Linked DNA regions of Homo sapiens: all the other regions are linked to region 3. Evidence: promoter capture Hi-C in 16 types of primary human blood cells and fetal thymus (Javierre and others, 2016). All regions are on one chromosome and are shown on one strand. Each heading gives the region's core, a stretch centred on a gene start or on the middle of the fragment in contact. The rest is flanking DNA. Distances are from core to core; before and after follow the strand shown. Region 1 holds the start of NFE2L2 (NFE2 like bZIP transcription factor 2). Region 2 holds the start of AGPS (alkylglycerone phosphate synthase). Region 3 holds the start of HOXD8 (homeobox D8). Region 4 holds the start of HNRNPA3 (heterogeneous nuclear ribonucleoprotein A3). Region 5 overlaps LOC100130691 (Putative uncharacterized protein FLJ44553).

Evidence for each region. The method cuts DNA at HindIII sites, captures the fragments that hold promoters and counts their contacts. A CHiCAGO score of 5 or more calls a contact.
Region 1: the fragment with the promoter of NFE2L2 here is called in contact with the fragment with the promoter of HOXD8 in region 3 in 1 of 17 cell types (total CD8 T cells); the score reaches 5.1 in total CD8 T cells.
Region 2: a contact is called between the fragment with the promoter of AGPS here and the fragment with the promoter of HOXD8 in region 3, in 2 of 17 cell types (naive CD8 T cells and total CD8 T cells). The highest score is 8.6, in naive CD8 T cells.
Region 4: a contact is called between the fragment with the promoter of HNRNPA3 here and the fragment with the promoter of HOXD8 in region 3, in 2 of 17 cell types (total CD8 T cells and naive CD4 T cells). The highest score is 5.7, in total CD8 T cells.
Region 5: a contact is called between a fragment that was not itself captured here and the fragment with the promoter of HOXD8 in region 3, in 1 of 17 cell types (naive CD8 T cells). The highest score is 6.9, in naive CD8 T cells.

What each region holds. Positions count from the first base shown.
Region 1 is chr2:177,263,309-177,266,008 of GRCh38, forward strand. NFE2L2 (NFE2 like bZIP transcription factor 2) reads right to left here and starts at 1,419. Exons shown (of 5, transcript NM_006164.5): 1 at 1,224-1,419. The coding sequence starts at 1,268. RefSeq lists an enhancer at 1-592 and silencers at 273-432, 693-1,562. The HindIII fragment of the contact is 5,708 bases long and covers 1-2,700 here.
Region 2 is chr2:177,391,344-177,394,085 of GRCh38, forward strand. It overlaps AGPS (alkylglycerone phosphate synthase), which reads left to right and starts at 1,430. Exons shown (of 20, transcript NM_003659.4): 1 at 1,430-1,706. The coding sequence starts at 1,447. It overlaps LOC100130691 (Putative uncharacterized protein FLJ44553), which reads right to left and starts at 1,348. Exons shown (of 9, transcript NR_026966.1): 1 at 1,230-1,348. RefSeq lists a silencer at 1,430-1,649. The HindIII fragment of the contact is 4,249 bases long and covers 1-2,742 here.
Region 3 is chr2:176,128,409-176,131,108 of GRCh38, forward strand. It overlaps HOXD8 (homeobox D8), which reads left to right and starts at 1,297. Exons shown (of 2, transcript NM_019558.4): 1 at 1,297-2,535. The coding sequence starts at 1,959. LOC100129455 (a long non-coding RNA gene) reads right to left here and starts at 2,120. Exons shown (of 1, transcript NR_187615.1): 1 at 1-2,120. The HindIII fragment of the contact is 7,912 bases long and covers 1-2,700 here.
Region 4 is chr2:177,211,526-177,214,225 of GRCh38, forward strand. HNRNPA3 (heterogeneous nuclear ribonucleoprotein A3) reads left to right here and starts at 1,269. Exons shown (of 11, transcript NM_194247.4): 1 at 1,269-1,346. The coding sequence starts at 1,275. MIR4444-1 (microRNA 4444-1) reads left to right here and starts at 1,201; the gene lies at 1,201-1,274. It overlaps LOC105373759 (a long non-coding RNA gene), which reads right to left and starts at 886. Exons shown (of 1, transcript NR_157853.1): 1 at 1-886. RefSeq lists a silencer at 907-1,696 and an enhancer at 1,236-1,907. The HindIII fragment of the contact is 9,993 bases long and covers 1-2,700 here.
Region 5 is chr2:177,334,291-177,337,108 of GRCh38, forward strand. LOC100130691 (Putative uncharacterized protein FLJ44553) reads right to left here. Exons shown (of 9, transcript NR_026966.1): 3 at 103-239. Among named protein-coding and RNA genes, the nearest start is that of MIR6512, 22 kb to the left of the region's middle. The HindIII fragment of the contact is 2,702 bases long and covers 29-2,730 here.

The DNA.
Region 1 (2,700 bases), core at 169-2,668, 1.1 Mb after region 3:
ATAAAGTACTCAGGGGAGAAATAATAGCTGAAAGCAAAAAATTACTAACAGACTAAAAGCAACAGAAATTCTAATCTACACTCGCAACTCTTACCCTTGACAGCACAGAAGAGAATATCCCGTCTTACACATTTTGGAATTGCAATTCTGAAACGCTAAATCCAAAGACAAAGCCGCTCTGGGGAAAATAGCAATTGCGCAACAGATCAACAGCTCCAACCTGTCCCTTGGCCCTGGCGCGGCGAGGTTTGCACGCTATAAAGCAGGAAAGGGCCAACCGAGGGCTGCTGTGACGGCCAACCGAGCGCTGTCACGGAAGCCAAGGCCACGCGCGCGGTGAGCGCCACCAGGGGGCACCGCGTCCGAACTAGAAGCCCCGGGTGCCGCCGACTCCGGCCTCAGAGTCCACTGCCCTCGCCCGCACTTTCCCGCGGCGTTACGAGGGGCCAACTCCGGGTGCCCGAGCCCGAACCCCTCCCCGGCCGAGAAAGTGCGCGGGGCCCGGCTCAGCCGCCACACGTCGGGGCTTCTGAGCCCGCTGGGCACTTAAGGCGCTCCTCCCTCGTCCCGGGGCTGGGCTTTCAAGAGAGCTCAAGGCTGCCAGAGAGTGATCCGAGAGATGGATGACTTCGCAAAGCCGCGCCCACAGACGGCCCAGCGGGGTGAGCGCGTCGCAGCCCGCACTCAAGGAGGTCTTGGGGCGCGGCGAAGGGGCTCCGGGTCCCAGCCCGAAGGCGACCTCAGTTCCCCCGAGAGCGGCCCCGTGACTAGGCACATTTTTGCCGGCACCGAGGCGGGGGAGCCGCGCAGCCCCGGAAGGGCCGGGCCGCGCCGGCTCAGACGGCCAGCGTCCGCCCCCTCTTGCCCCGCCGCCCACCGGGCCGCTCAAACTTAGGGGCTCCGGAGTCCCAGCTCTCGGGCCCGGGGACGCGGCTGGATTCTCCCCCAAGGCCCACGCGAGCGGGCTCAGTCCCCAGACCTTCCCGCAACTTCCCACCCGTTCGCCCTCGGGCTCGTGGTCGGTCGGATCACCCGGCCGCGTCCCCGCTGCCCCTCCCCGCCCTGCCCCGGCGCAAGCGCGGCGGCTCTACCCAGCGCCGCGGTCCTGGCTCTGGCCAGACGTGGGGGAAGCCGGTTGCGGCTGTCCCTCCCGGGCCGCGGTTCCCTAGCTCCCCCGCCCCCGTCCCGGCACCACCGCAGGGCCCAGAGGGCCGAGGCAGCACCTGCTGGGACGGGAGTCCCGGCGGCGGCAGCTCCAAGTCCATCATGATGAGCTGTGGACCGTGTGTTGGGGCTCCCCGACGGCGGCCCTGTTCCGGCTGCCGAGGCGCGGCGCGGACAGGGCGGCTCTGGTGGCGGCGGCGGCGGCGGTGGCGGCTGCGTCGGCGGCTCCTCCGGGCTCCCCGGCACTCGGTAATCGGCTACACGCCGGCGGGCCCCTGCCCCGCTCCGCCTCCCGCCCCACAAGGGCGGGGCAAGAGTCCGGGCCCTTCCTTCCCCCGCCGGCCGCGCGGGCTGAGCTTCCGAAAATCCCCCACCCGCGCCGGGGCTGACGCAAGAAGCTCGCGGTCCGGGGGCGGGAAGGGACTGCCAGCTGGGGTCCCAGCAGGCGGGGGACCTAGAGGAGGTCTCCGTTAGCTCCCCGGTGCCGGCGTTCAGTTTGCCCTCCCCCGCAAATAAGGGCAGCGCTCTCGCCCGCGAGATAAAGAGTTGTTTGCGAAGGTCGCTGGAGTTCGGACGCTTTGAAACAGTTTAAACAGTTGGAACAAACACACCCGGAGCCCCGGAAAGGCGTTGGTGTAGGAGCTGCGCCTCCCTGATTTGGAGTTGCAGAACCTTGCCCTGCTTTTATCTCACTTTACCGCCCGAGAATGGCGCCAGCCGGGGTGGGGGGGGCTAAAGATTTGGACCCAGACCGTGCCACTGCCAACTGCCCTCCCGCCCTTGCTCCCTTCCCGGGCTGGGGCCAGTGGGCCCTGCCTAGGGGAGATGTGGACAGCTCCGGCAGCTCGTGTTCGCAGTCACCCTGAACGCCCTCCTCTGAACTCCCACGTGTCTCCATTCTCCTAAGCTCAGGTCGTCAAAGGCAAACGGAGAAGCCCCTTTAGGTCGGAGAGTGGTCAGTATTGCCCACCCAGAGCTGGGAGAAAAACGGGAACCCCAAGAGAACCTCTTCCCACCAAAGCGCAGCCACCACGCCACAGATGGCGCCCTTCAACAGTGTGTAATACCACAACATGCTGTAATCGTTTACTCTTTACAAATTTCTTTTTCACGTACTCACAAAATAGTACAAATTAAAAAAAGTTACAAAAACGTTTGTATAGTATTGGCTCATTTTATAAAAACGTGCCTAGAAAAAAATTGAAGGTTACCAATATATTAAATGCTGTGGAATCAACGATTTTTATGTTTCTCCTTGTTACTTCCAAGTATGCTTTAAATCTGCAGTGCGTATGTTTTATGTCTTACATTAAAAACAATTATTTAAAAATTAATCATTGCCCAGAGAAGACTTCAAGTATTTGAAACGAGGAATATTGTGAACTCTTATAAGGGTTCAAAGAGGATAGATAAATGGTTTAGTTTTGTTTTTTTCTTCCTCTTCTGCATTTACAATCTTTCTAACTCTATACAAGACTGGTTTTCAGTTTCTAGCTTCCTGGAATTATTCAAAACCAGGTGAAGTAGATAATACTG
Region 2 (2,742 bases), core at 180-2,679, 1.3 Mb after region 3:
ATTAAATAGATACGTATAAGATGCCTAGGTTATGGCCATTTTTTATATTTAACAAATTCCTAATTCTTTCTTGTTTCTACAACTGTACTAAATTATTTTAATAGCTGCAAAAGTATTTTAACATATTGACTAACCATTTCTCTGTTGCTAGACATTTGGACTGTTTTCAATGGTTTGGTATCTCTTCGTATATAAATTTCAGAAGACATTCGGACCTCCTGTAAAGGCCAGGTAATACATATTTTGGGGCTTCTGGGACCACATAAGGTCTCTGTTGCATATTCTTTTAAAAAATTTCTTGTTTTCTTTTAACAACCCTTCTCAAATACAAAAACCATTAGCATGAGGGCTGTGTAAAAACAGGCCACAGACTAGAGCTGGCCCTCCAACAGCAATTTGCTTAGCCCTTAATTGAGAGTTTTTAACCAGTCTGGGCCTCTTTGGAAGTTCACTCTAAAGGCATAATCTCAATTTTAGAAGCTGGCAACACCCAAGAGAGCAATTGTTAGTCTCTAGTCCCATGGATGTGGTGTTCTTCAGATTCCTCTGCCAATATTTTTCTTGTTAGGAAAGCATGATGTGAAAGTGGTGACAGGATGGAGAATGACAATGGCCAGTGTATGTGAGTTTTTGTCTAAGCTAATTCTTATGCAAGACACCGGCTGAAACAGGTGAGGAGCACTTTTCACGTGCTATCTTCCAGAAATGAATTCAATCTGTAAATAACTGAGATGTCTTCACAGCTCTTGGGTAATTTTTGTCTGTAGCAATAAGAAACTTTATCTCTATTAAAGTTAGGAAGGGGTTAGGATCCAGTAATGAATGAAATGAGAACTTAAGTTGCAACTCAGTTTCTGTACTTACTTGTGATCTAGCATTAAACACAGTGCCAGGCACGAAATAGGTGGTGAGAAATAAGAAAATGATAGAGCTATTTGCTCTAATGGTTAGAGGCAATGATGGTCAGCTTTGAGTTACTTTGGTGACCCCGCAGGGAGGAAGAGCACAGGTGGAACATTAGAATCTCTTTCAGGAAAAGGATGCCGCTGGATCCATCAGGTCCAGTAGCACTGCCCATTTCTCCTGCTCCAAGGCATCTGCCCTCGAAAGCCCCCAGGCCACACCCGAGGACACCACCCAGGGTTCTAGGACACCTCGAGGGCGGACGTGGTTTGGCTCTCGGTCCAGCTGGACCGGGCTGGGCCAACCGGGAGTCAGCTCGAACTCACCTGCTTGGCAGGTGCGCGCTTCCCGAGGCGTGACAAGGGAGCGCCGGCGCGGTGGGTGGGGGGCAGAGAATGTGAAGCTCCAGACGCATGGCACCCGCCGCCAAGTCGCCGCGGTGGCTGCCGGGATGCGCCGCAGCGAATGGTCGCGCCGGGCGCCGCTCTGAGTGACCTTTCACCCGCGCCCAGCGGTTCCGGGCGGCAGCACAAGGCGGTAGCCATGGCGGAGGCGGCGGCTGCAGCGGGTGGGACTGGCTTGGGCGCGGGCGCGAGCTACGGGTCTGCAGCGGACCGGGACCGGGACCCGGACCCGGACCGCGCCGGGCGGAGGCTGCGGGTTCTCTCTGGCCATCTGCTGGGCCGGCCCCGGGAGGCTCTGAGTACCAATGAGTGCAAAGCGCGGAGAGCCGCGTCGGCGGCCACGGCAGCGCCCACGGCCACTCCCGCCGCGCAGGAGTCGGGCACCATCCCAAAGAAGCGGTGAGTAGCGGTATGTGGAAGGAGTTAGCGTCGAGGGACCAGGCCGGGCCTGTGCTGCAGGAGGGCACAGGCGAGGTGGGAAGGGAAGTGACACGGGTGGGCGGAAGGCATCCCGGTCCCTGAAAGTAGGGACCCACCTCTCTTTCGAGAGAGTGGACTAGACCCTGGATTCTGTCAGGAAGGGGGCGGGATGGGATGGTGGATTTTGGTCACTATGTGAGGGTAACAGGCTTGAAGAACTCTCGTTGGAGAAGGGTTTAAAGGATTCCTTTTTCCTGAGCTTTTAGTGCCAGGAATTCATTTTTTATCTTGAATTAATACTTTTGGTGCTGAGGTCTTGGAATGGGTAGCAGAGGTTCTATTTTTCTCCGAGGAGATATAAATTTGTACTAGATGATAGATCATAGGAATCTCTCTCATTCGCGAAAGCCTGCTGTGGGGGAAACTGGTGGTGCCCTGGAAAAAGGTGCTGACTGGTTTCTGTGGGGTAAGTTCCACTTGCTTAGGATCAAGATGTATTGACTTTGAGGGAGGAAACCGATGAATGGTAAGAAGCCATAAACTGCAAACACTAGCTAGTGGTTTAAGGTGTGGTGGTATAGCTACTGAGCTCTGTGTAACCAGAAGCTAAAAGACAAGAGTCTAACCGATGAGGGATGTTTGTAAGAGATCTTGACTTTCGATGTTTTTGGAGAAATCTTTTTTTTTTTTTTTGTATTTTTAGTAGAGACAGGGTTTCACCGTGTTAGCCAGGATGGTCTCGATCTCCTCAATCTCTGATGAAGGCTATTAGGAGAAGCTACTTTCTGACGTGTGGCTTTGTCACCGTGGATAAATGGATAAACCGAGAGTGAAAAAAATAAGTAGCTAATGTTTAAAGTGTACTTTTAAGTGTGCCAAAGTGTGCTAAATCCTTTGTTTCTTCCCAAGCTATGAGGTATGTGCGGTTTTCTCCCATTTTACAGATGAATAAATTAAGTCTGCTGGAGTCTTAGCAGATATGCTGTGTGACAGGTTAGAATTTGAAAGCACATCA
Region 3 (2,700 bases), core at 47-2,546:
GGCTGTGGGCCTGGCGCCCTCACGACATTGTACCTATCCCGAAGGAAACGGGGCTCAGTCACCCAAAGAGCCCACGAGAAAGGCCGAGCAGGAGAGGGGAAAACACACACACACAACAGAGAACCATTGCATTTATTGGACATTGAAACGGGAGCAGAGAGGGAAAGGAAGTGTGTGGGGAGGCGGTTGGTAGGGTAAAGCCAGACAGCTTTGGAGAGAGCTGCTAAAATCGGGAATATTTTGTCGATTCACACTCGACTGGGCCACATGACTCGGGCAACTTTTCTTCATCTCTGCTCACAAACTAGGCTGAGCCTTCTCTTTCTCTGCTTTGGGAAAAATTCGTAACTTTGAGGCCTGCGCGCTCTCTCGGCAGTAATTTCACAGGCTTGGCGGAGGAAGTAGGATCGTTAGCATAAGATGGGCCGCCTGCAGCTGCCTGGAACCGGCGCGATCTGAACGCCGGCTGGGAGGCTCCTGGGGGGAACTTGCGGTCGTCTGCCCTCCGCACTCCTCCGGGAACCGCAGCCGGCCCTGGTTCGCTGCGCGCCGGGGCTGAGACCCGGGAGCCGCGTCCTGCCCGAGGAAATGTCACCCTCCCCAGCGCGAGCCCTTTTTCCCGCCTCAGAACGTTTCTGTCCGCTCTTCTATTTACTCTCTCAGCAAGCCTAATGCCCCCTCCTGCATTCTTCAGCCTCCCCCTGCGCCCAGGGCTGACGTCTATCAAGGGTGAAATGATGGAAACTATATTCATGGGCATGATTTCCATTAAATATCAATTAACCTGAGAGCCTCGGCCAGGCTTGCGGTGCGTCAAGGGTAAATGTACATCTCATTTCCACAGGGCCCGCTCGGCTGGAAAAGAAAGGCTTTGATTTGCTTTGATAACGCCAGGATCTGGGGCCACACTCGCGGCTTTTAATTAAACCACTTCGATATGCCCCAACTCAAATGCACGGTCCGGTCCGTCAACACCTCTTGTCCACGTTCCCTGGGCTGCACCCGCGTGTCCAGAGCTGCAAAAGCCACGGGCAACCTCTGCTTTTGCAGCCAGGGGCTCGGGGAGGCAGTCATTTGCTCCGCAGCCTCCTGGGAGTGGCCTCCTTGGCTCCCCCAAGTCTAAGGCTCCGCCGCGGCCCCTCCCTGCCGGCTGCGATCCGCATTCCCGCGGCCCCGGGGCACACGGAGCCCTTGGCAGTGCGTCTTTATGGGCCCCCTTTAAGGCCGGCGGAGGCATCTCGGGCCGGGCGCGGCGCTCCGTCCGTCGGCCGTAGCGACTGAACTGCGCGCGGATCCCTCCGCGGGGCTCCTCGTCCCCGTCACGCTGACTTTCCGTGCAGTGCTGTGGTGCGAAAATGCCTCGCCGGTGCGCACCGGGTCGGCAGCCTCGGCGGCGGGGGCGAGATTGGCGGGAGGGGGGCGCGGGGGGGGCGCGGTAAGAGGTGGCGGCGGGCAGAGGGTGTTTTTTTTCTTTTCCCTCCAGAGCCGGGGTTTGTAAACCGAGGCCAGAGTGTCCCCGTGGGCCGAGCGCACTTTTTTCTTGTCCGGGTGCGCTCAGTCACTGGTGCCTGAGAGGAAACAGTGGAGGCAGCGGGGCAGGTCGCCTGGGGCGTCGGCGATTATATTGCGGCCGAGCCGGGGCGCGCCGGGAAAGGCCGGGAGGGCGGCGGCGCGCGGGGGCTGGGCGAGGCCCCGCGACCCGCGAGGGAGGCGGCGCGAAGCCGAGGCGGCGGGCGCAAGAGCCGGGCATGAGCGCCCAGTAGCTGAGCGCCCGCGGCTGCCTGGCCTCAGAAGCGACGCGCGAGCGCGGGCGGGCGGCAGCAGCGACGTAGCCCGGCGGTCCCGGCGGCGAGAGCAGCCGCCCCACAGGCCCCCGCGGCAGTGCGGCCGAGTCGAGGCTCGCTCTCTGGCTGCTTAGCGCCGCCCGCCCGCCCGGGGCCGCCGCCGCTGACGCCCCAATGAGTTCGTACTTCGTGAACCCGCTGTACTCCAAGTACAAGGCGGCGGCTGCGGCGGCGGCGGCGGCGGGCGAGGCCATCAATCCCACTTACTACGACTGTCACTTCGCGCCCGAGGTCGGCGGCCGTCACGCCGCCGCCGCAGCAGCCCTGCAGCTCTATGGCAACAGCGCCGCCGGCTTCCCGCACGCGCCCCCGCAGGCGCACGCGCACCCGCACCCGTCCCCGCCGCCCTCCGGGACTGGGTGCGGCGGTAGGGAAGGCCGGGGCCAGGAGTACTTCCACCCCGGCGGGGGCAGCCCGGCCGCTGCCTACCAGGCCGCCCCCCCTCCTCCTCCGCATCCTCCGCCTCCGCCGCCACCTCCCCCCTGCGGCGGGATTGCCTGTCACGGGGAGCCCGCGAAGTTTTACGGATACGATAACTTACAGAGACAGCCGATTTTTACGACCCAGCAAGAGGCCGAGCTGGTACAATATCCTGACTGTAAATCGTCCAGTGGTAATATTGGCGAGGACCCAGACCACTTAAATCAGAGCTCGTCTCCTTCTCAAATGTTTCCGTGGATGAGACCACAAGGTTGGGATGCATTTTTTTTTTAAGAAGGGAGAGGGGGAGAAATCTGCTTTCATCTCACGTTCTGGCTTTAAAACTCCCGTTCCCTCTCCCCCTCCTTTTCCTTCTTGTGTAGCCACAGTGGCTCTTATTCATAAAGTAATACAGACTTTTTTTAAAAAAGTAGGA
Region 4 (2,700 bases), core at 19-2,518, 1.1 Mb after region 3:
ACAAACTTTTAGACTTTACGCTCCCCTTTTCCAAACTCCAAGTCGACCACTCCCCATTTGTTAACAGAAACTTACTATAACTGATTAGATTTCTAACCTTTCCTAGGGAGAGCCAGTTCAATTCTAAAAGGGTTGGTCACATGGGTTGCTAAATTAAAATATAAAGCATTTCCTAACAGGGAAGGGAGGCTGGTCAATTGTGGTTATTTTTATCAGTAACTTTAAATATGGATCCATAGATTATCAATTTATGGCTGTCGTGGGTGTTAGAAGATGACCTAATCCCATCCCCATTTTCATTTAAAAAACTGAAACTAAAGCTCTGTAAAATCAAATGATTTAAAATCATCTGACTAGGCCGAGAAAGGATTAGCTCTCTAGAGCATTACGGTAACAATCATTCGCAAACAGGTAGCATTATCTGGCGACCCTGCTTTTCTGGAAATCTTGTCAATTATTCAGTTCCTTAAATTCCGTCAGCTACAACAGATGCATCAGCTCTTTCCACACTAACTTGAAAGAAGCACATTAGAAAATAGTCCTGACTTGTTTCTTGAGATCAGTAACTAATGAACTGACCTCCACCAGTCCTGCCTCAGGTCGTTAATGGTAAAAATTCTGTATGTCAGCCGCGTTTTGAGGCCTGTCCAAGGTGCTTGTGAGTCCCACATGTTGGAGTCGCAGGGCTTTTCAGTACATGCCCTCAGGCAGGCGGCGCAGTCACAGACACTGGTCCCCGGCATTTGGAAACAGGAAAGATGGTCCGAGGGGCCGAGGAGTTTTTCTTGCAACCTTTAAATTACAAGCAAGAAAAACGTGGGTTTTATTTCGGGCACAGGAATAGAATGAATTCTGAAATGGAGAACTAGAGGCCTGCGTGGGGAATGAGGGACAAGCGCGAGAAGAAAGGGAAAGGCCTTTCTCTCTGGTGACGCGCGATCACAAGGCGTTCCCTCTACGTGGACGCTCACCATTGGCGGAGACCGCACTGACGTCCCGGAACTCGCCCTGACGCGAACGGCGGCAAAGGCCCTCTTCCCCTGAAAGCTGGCGAGGCGCGCGCGCTCCCGCGGCACGCCGCGCCTCCGCCCTCCGCCCGCCAACCCGCTGGTCCAGTCCCTCTTCGCGCCCGCTTGGCTCCGCCCCCTTCCCAATTCGCTCCTCCCCCAACAGACTGGCGGCGCGCGGAAAACGCGTCACGTGACGACTGGCCCCGCCTCTTCCTCTCGGTCCCATATTGAACTCGAGTTGGAAGAGGCGAGTCCGGTCTCAAAATGGAGGTAAAACCGCCGCCCGGTCGCCCCCAGCCCGACTCCGGCCGTCGCCGTCGCCGCCGGGGGGAGGAGGTATTAGGGGGAGAGCGGGGGGTTGGTGGGGAATGGCCGGCGTTGGGGGCCTGGTTCGGTGGGAGCGGGGAGGCCGGGTGGACCGGGTCGGCCGTCCCGCGCTCTTGCGTTGAGACAGGCTGTGGGAGGGGGAGGGGAGCGAGAGTTGGAGACCTCCTTGGGGCCCCTCGCCCGCCTCGCCTTCACCTTCGGCTGCACAGGCGGCCCCTTGGAGGCGCGGCTTGGTCGGGGAGGCCTCGGGAGGGAAGCCGGCCTGCCGGCTGCGCGGCCTCCGAAGCGAGGCCGAGGGCGGCATGGCGGGCCCCGGCGGGAGCGGTTGGGAGGAGGTGGTGGGGGAGGGGAGGGGACGAGCAGGCACATCCGGGCGAGCGAGCAAGCGGGCGGCGGCCACATTGACATTGATCCGCCGCCGCGTTACGAAATGGCGCATTGGCCCGCAATGGCCGCCGCCTCGCTCTGCCGCCGGGAAAGCGAGCCTGGGATTGGAGGGAAGAGGGCGGAGGCGGCCCGGCAGAAAAAGCCGCAAATGGCCTCGAAGCATGGGGAGGTAGTGCTTTCGCTGAAGTTCTGCCGACGCTTTTCTAGGCCTTTTACGGGTCCTCTCCGCGAGAAGTCGATAATTGGCCTTTTCTTTTTTTCGCAGCATCCTGTTGGAAATACGAGATTGTTAAAAACTTTGCTGCTTTAAAATACTTCCTGATATATTTTTGCTAAAGTACTTACATTACACTTCTTAAACCGCCATGTGGGCGAAGGACTTAATTTTTGAGAATTTGAGTGTAGATGTGAAAAACAACCCAGCCAGCTCCTTCCCGGCTCCGGCCGCTGAGGAGGGTGGGTGGAGAAGAATTTGAGTATAGTATGTTAAGGAAGAATTTAGAAATGTTTTTTATCTTCATGTTTTCCCATTCTTTGAGTCGGCTCTGGTTGTAGTTTCCTGGAATTTTATTTAGAGGACTGCAACCAGAGTTGAAATTTTCACGTTTTTGCAGTACATTTAATGTGGATCCTAAATATTTTTGTCGATTTCGTTATTGTCAATCGAATACATTTATCCAAGACTTGAAAAGATGAGATTACATGAATTAATGCTTTAGGCTATTAACGTTTTTTTCTAGCATGTGACAATCTCTTCACATTAAACGGTTTAACATCTCTACCTCTAGGAGACACAGGAAGACATTAGAATGTAAATGTGAGCCCCTTATTTAAGAACTTCGGGTGAAGGAAACCTTAATGCATGCATTAAATGACAGTTCATGCAATGTGTTAAAAAGTCTTGACTAAAGTATAAAACAATTTCAAGACATCTTAATTCTTAAAAATCTCAATTTTTGTTTTGCTGTACTCCGTT
Region 5 (2,818 bases), core at 130-2,629, 1.2 Mb after region 3:
ATTACACATACACAAATAGGAGACTATAAGCTTTGTGAGAGCAGAAACCTCAAGGCCATATCTGTTCTCTTTGCCACACTAAGCACAGAGCTTAGCACATACCTGGCATATAGATCCTCATTAAAGATTTGCTCAATGAGGCACATATGAATGATAGTGTTTGAGATTAGGTGGTAGGCACTCATGAAAACTTTCAATATCTTCTTGTATTTTTTGCAAGATAGTCCACAGTTTTGAATCTGCAAAGGAGAAATAAGATTAAGGTTAATGCAGGCCATTTGAAAGTATGCCTTACCTCCTCATGAAATGGTCTGAATCTGATCAAGGGCAATTTTCACATTTGTGATTGTACTTTCCAGTTAAAACTCAATAATTAATTAATCATATTGTGAGTCAATTTGTGGATGATTGAGAACCTTCCCCTGCATAGTTGTTTGGTCATTCCCCAACAAATTCATTCCCTGAAAATGGCTAAAAAAATTAGGCTTGAAGTAAAACTAGATTTGAAGGCAACGACTAAATCTTCTTTATATCTGTATTCCTAGAACACATTCCTAGAATATATTGTGCTTTATAATAAGAGCACAATATATTTTGAACTAGGAAGGAAGAAAAAAGAAAGGGTAGCAAAAAGGAAGAAAAATGAGAGTTAGGAATCTTGGATTTAAGCCTTGGGTTGACAATGTGAATTTGGGCCAGTCATTTCTTCATTTTGTTTCTCAGTTTCCCTTTTTGGAAGCCAGAGGAGTTGACCTAGTTGACCACTAACACACCTCCAGATTCTAATTGCCTGTGGAAGAGAGACTGGGGTCATTCTTGGTATAAACATGCCCATGCTTCCTTTTTTCCACTAGGGGGCACTGTAGTACTAGCGCAGTGGCCTCCATCTTCCAATTTATTCAATTCTGTTGACAGTATTTTTCCTGTTTTAGTCCCCTGGAAAACATTCTTTACCTTTAACTTTCAAACTCAAATTTACACTACAAAGTATGAGATTTAATTTGGTAAGGAAAGCTGGATAAACATAGGAAGAATGTAGTTCAATGATTTATATTGCTTAAAAGAGAAATTAGAATCACAGAGCTATTTGCATAGTTAGGTTATAACACGTTAAGATTTTCTGTGGTCCAAAAGGGGGGCTTTGAAACTCTTTTAAAGGAAAACAAAGTGGAAAAAATTGTAATTACCAGAATAACAAAAACATAAACTTAATAAGTATGTCAAATCTATGTGAAGACAACTATAAAATTGCCAAGGCTTAAACAGAGATATACCATGTTCTTGGATAAGAACACTCGGCATTTAAAAATTTTTTAATTATTCCCCAAATATATTCATAAATATAATACAATTCCAATGGAAATGCCAATGGAATTTTTTTTGAAACTTTACAAAAGAGTTCTGAAGTTCCTTGAGAAAAGTTAAACTGAAAAGAGTCAAGAAAAAAAGACAACCATTTGAGAGGAAGGAGGATTTTAACTGCTAGATTTTTTAAAAAAGATAAAACAGCTGAAATTAAAACAGTAGCATAATGACAGCAAAATAAACAAACAAACCAATAAAACAGTGAGTCCAGAAACAAACCCAAGTATGGTGTCCTGGATGTGTTTGTGTGTCTGGGGTTTGTGTGCTTTGGTATTTGGCATCTCAACACTTTTCCTGTTATAGGAACTGAAAAAAGGCATATCTTCCTCTTCTAGACAGCAAGGACATCAGCACATAACTGAAGTTTGTCCAGTGGGATTCCCACATTGAATCCAGAAGGAGTGATGCAAAGATGCAGAAACCATCAAGCTATCTACTGAGACAGTGATGATGTCAGTAATTCAGGAGAAGAGAATGTCTGGTGGTGGCACTGTCCTTAGTTTCTATTTAGGCTCTTCCTATAACAGTTCTTCACCAAGTTCTGGCAGCATTCTAATCAGACTATTCCTTCAGTGGTCCTTGGCTGATTCATCTGCTGCCAGCCTCCTTTGGCTCCTGTCTGATTTCTGAGCCTGATTTTTAACTTTCCCAAATAACTTTGTATATAGATACTGTTACTCTTTCAGTAAATTCCATTCTATTTAATCTACCTAGAATTGGTTACTAATGCTGGCAAATAGGAATTCTGACTTGTACAGAAACTGGTAATGGGGATTCGGTTACACACAACAGACTTTCAGGGAAATCAGGAGAATCTGGGTATGCAGACTCATTGTGTTTGAAGATAATAAAAACCAATTAATATTCAAAGATGAGACTCTGGAAACCCACAGCTTATAGTAGTAAAATAGCTAATGAAATTAATGCCTGTGAGCATTAGGATTGAGTTGGGTATTAAAGACAAGACCATGGGGGAGAGAATTGCTGTTGTCACAGAACAGTATGAAGGAAATGAGGAATTCAAGAGCTGGGTGCTAAGGCTAGCTGCTTCATTTGAAGACATTAACAAATGAAAATCTCTAAATTCTCATCTTAAAACATGAACTGAAACCCAAGCTGTGAATTTGTTAAAAGAAACTTTTATAGCCCTAGGATGGAGATAGCTATAAACCAATATTTGTTCTTGTTGATTGCTGATTTGCAAATCAGTCGAATTCACCTCCTTACCTGGGGTCTTAGAAGAGCATATGTTAAAGTGCTGATTCCGAAAGAGTAAGATCTTTAAAATTAAAATGCTATATAGGGGAGAATTTGAAGAACGCAGAGATTCCTTGCCCCCAAACTCTCAGCCTTCTTTGCAGCTGAAGCTTTTATTATAAAGCTATTTCTCCTTTGTTTGAAGAGGCTGAAACTCCCTAGTTTGAGGGAGTTACCTTATAGGAGGTTCTCTTAT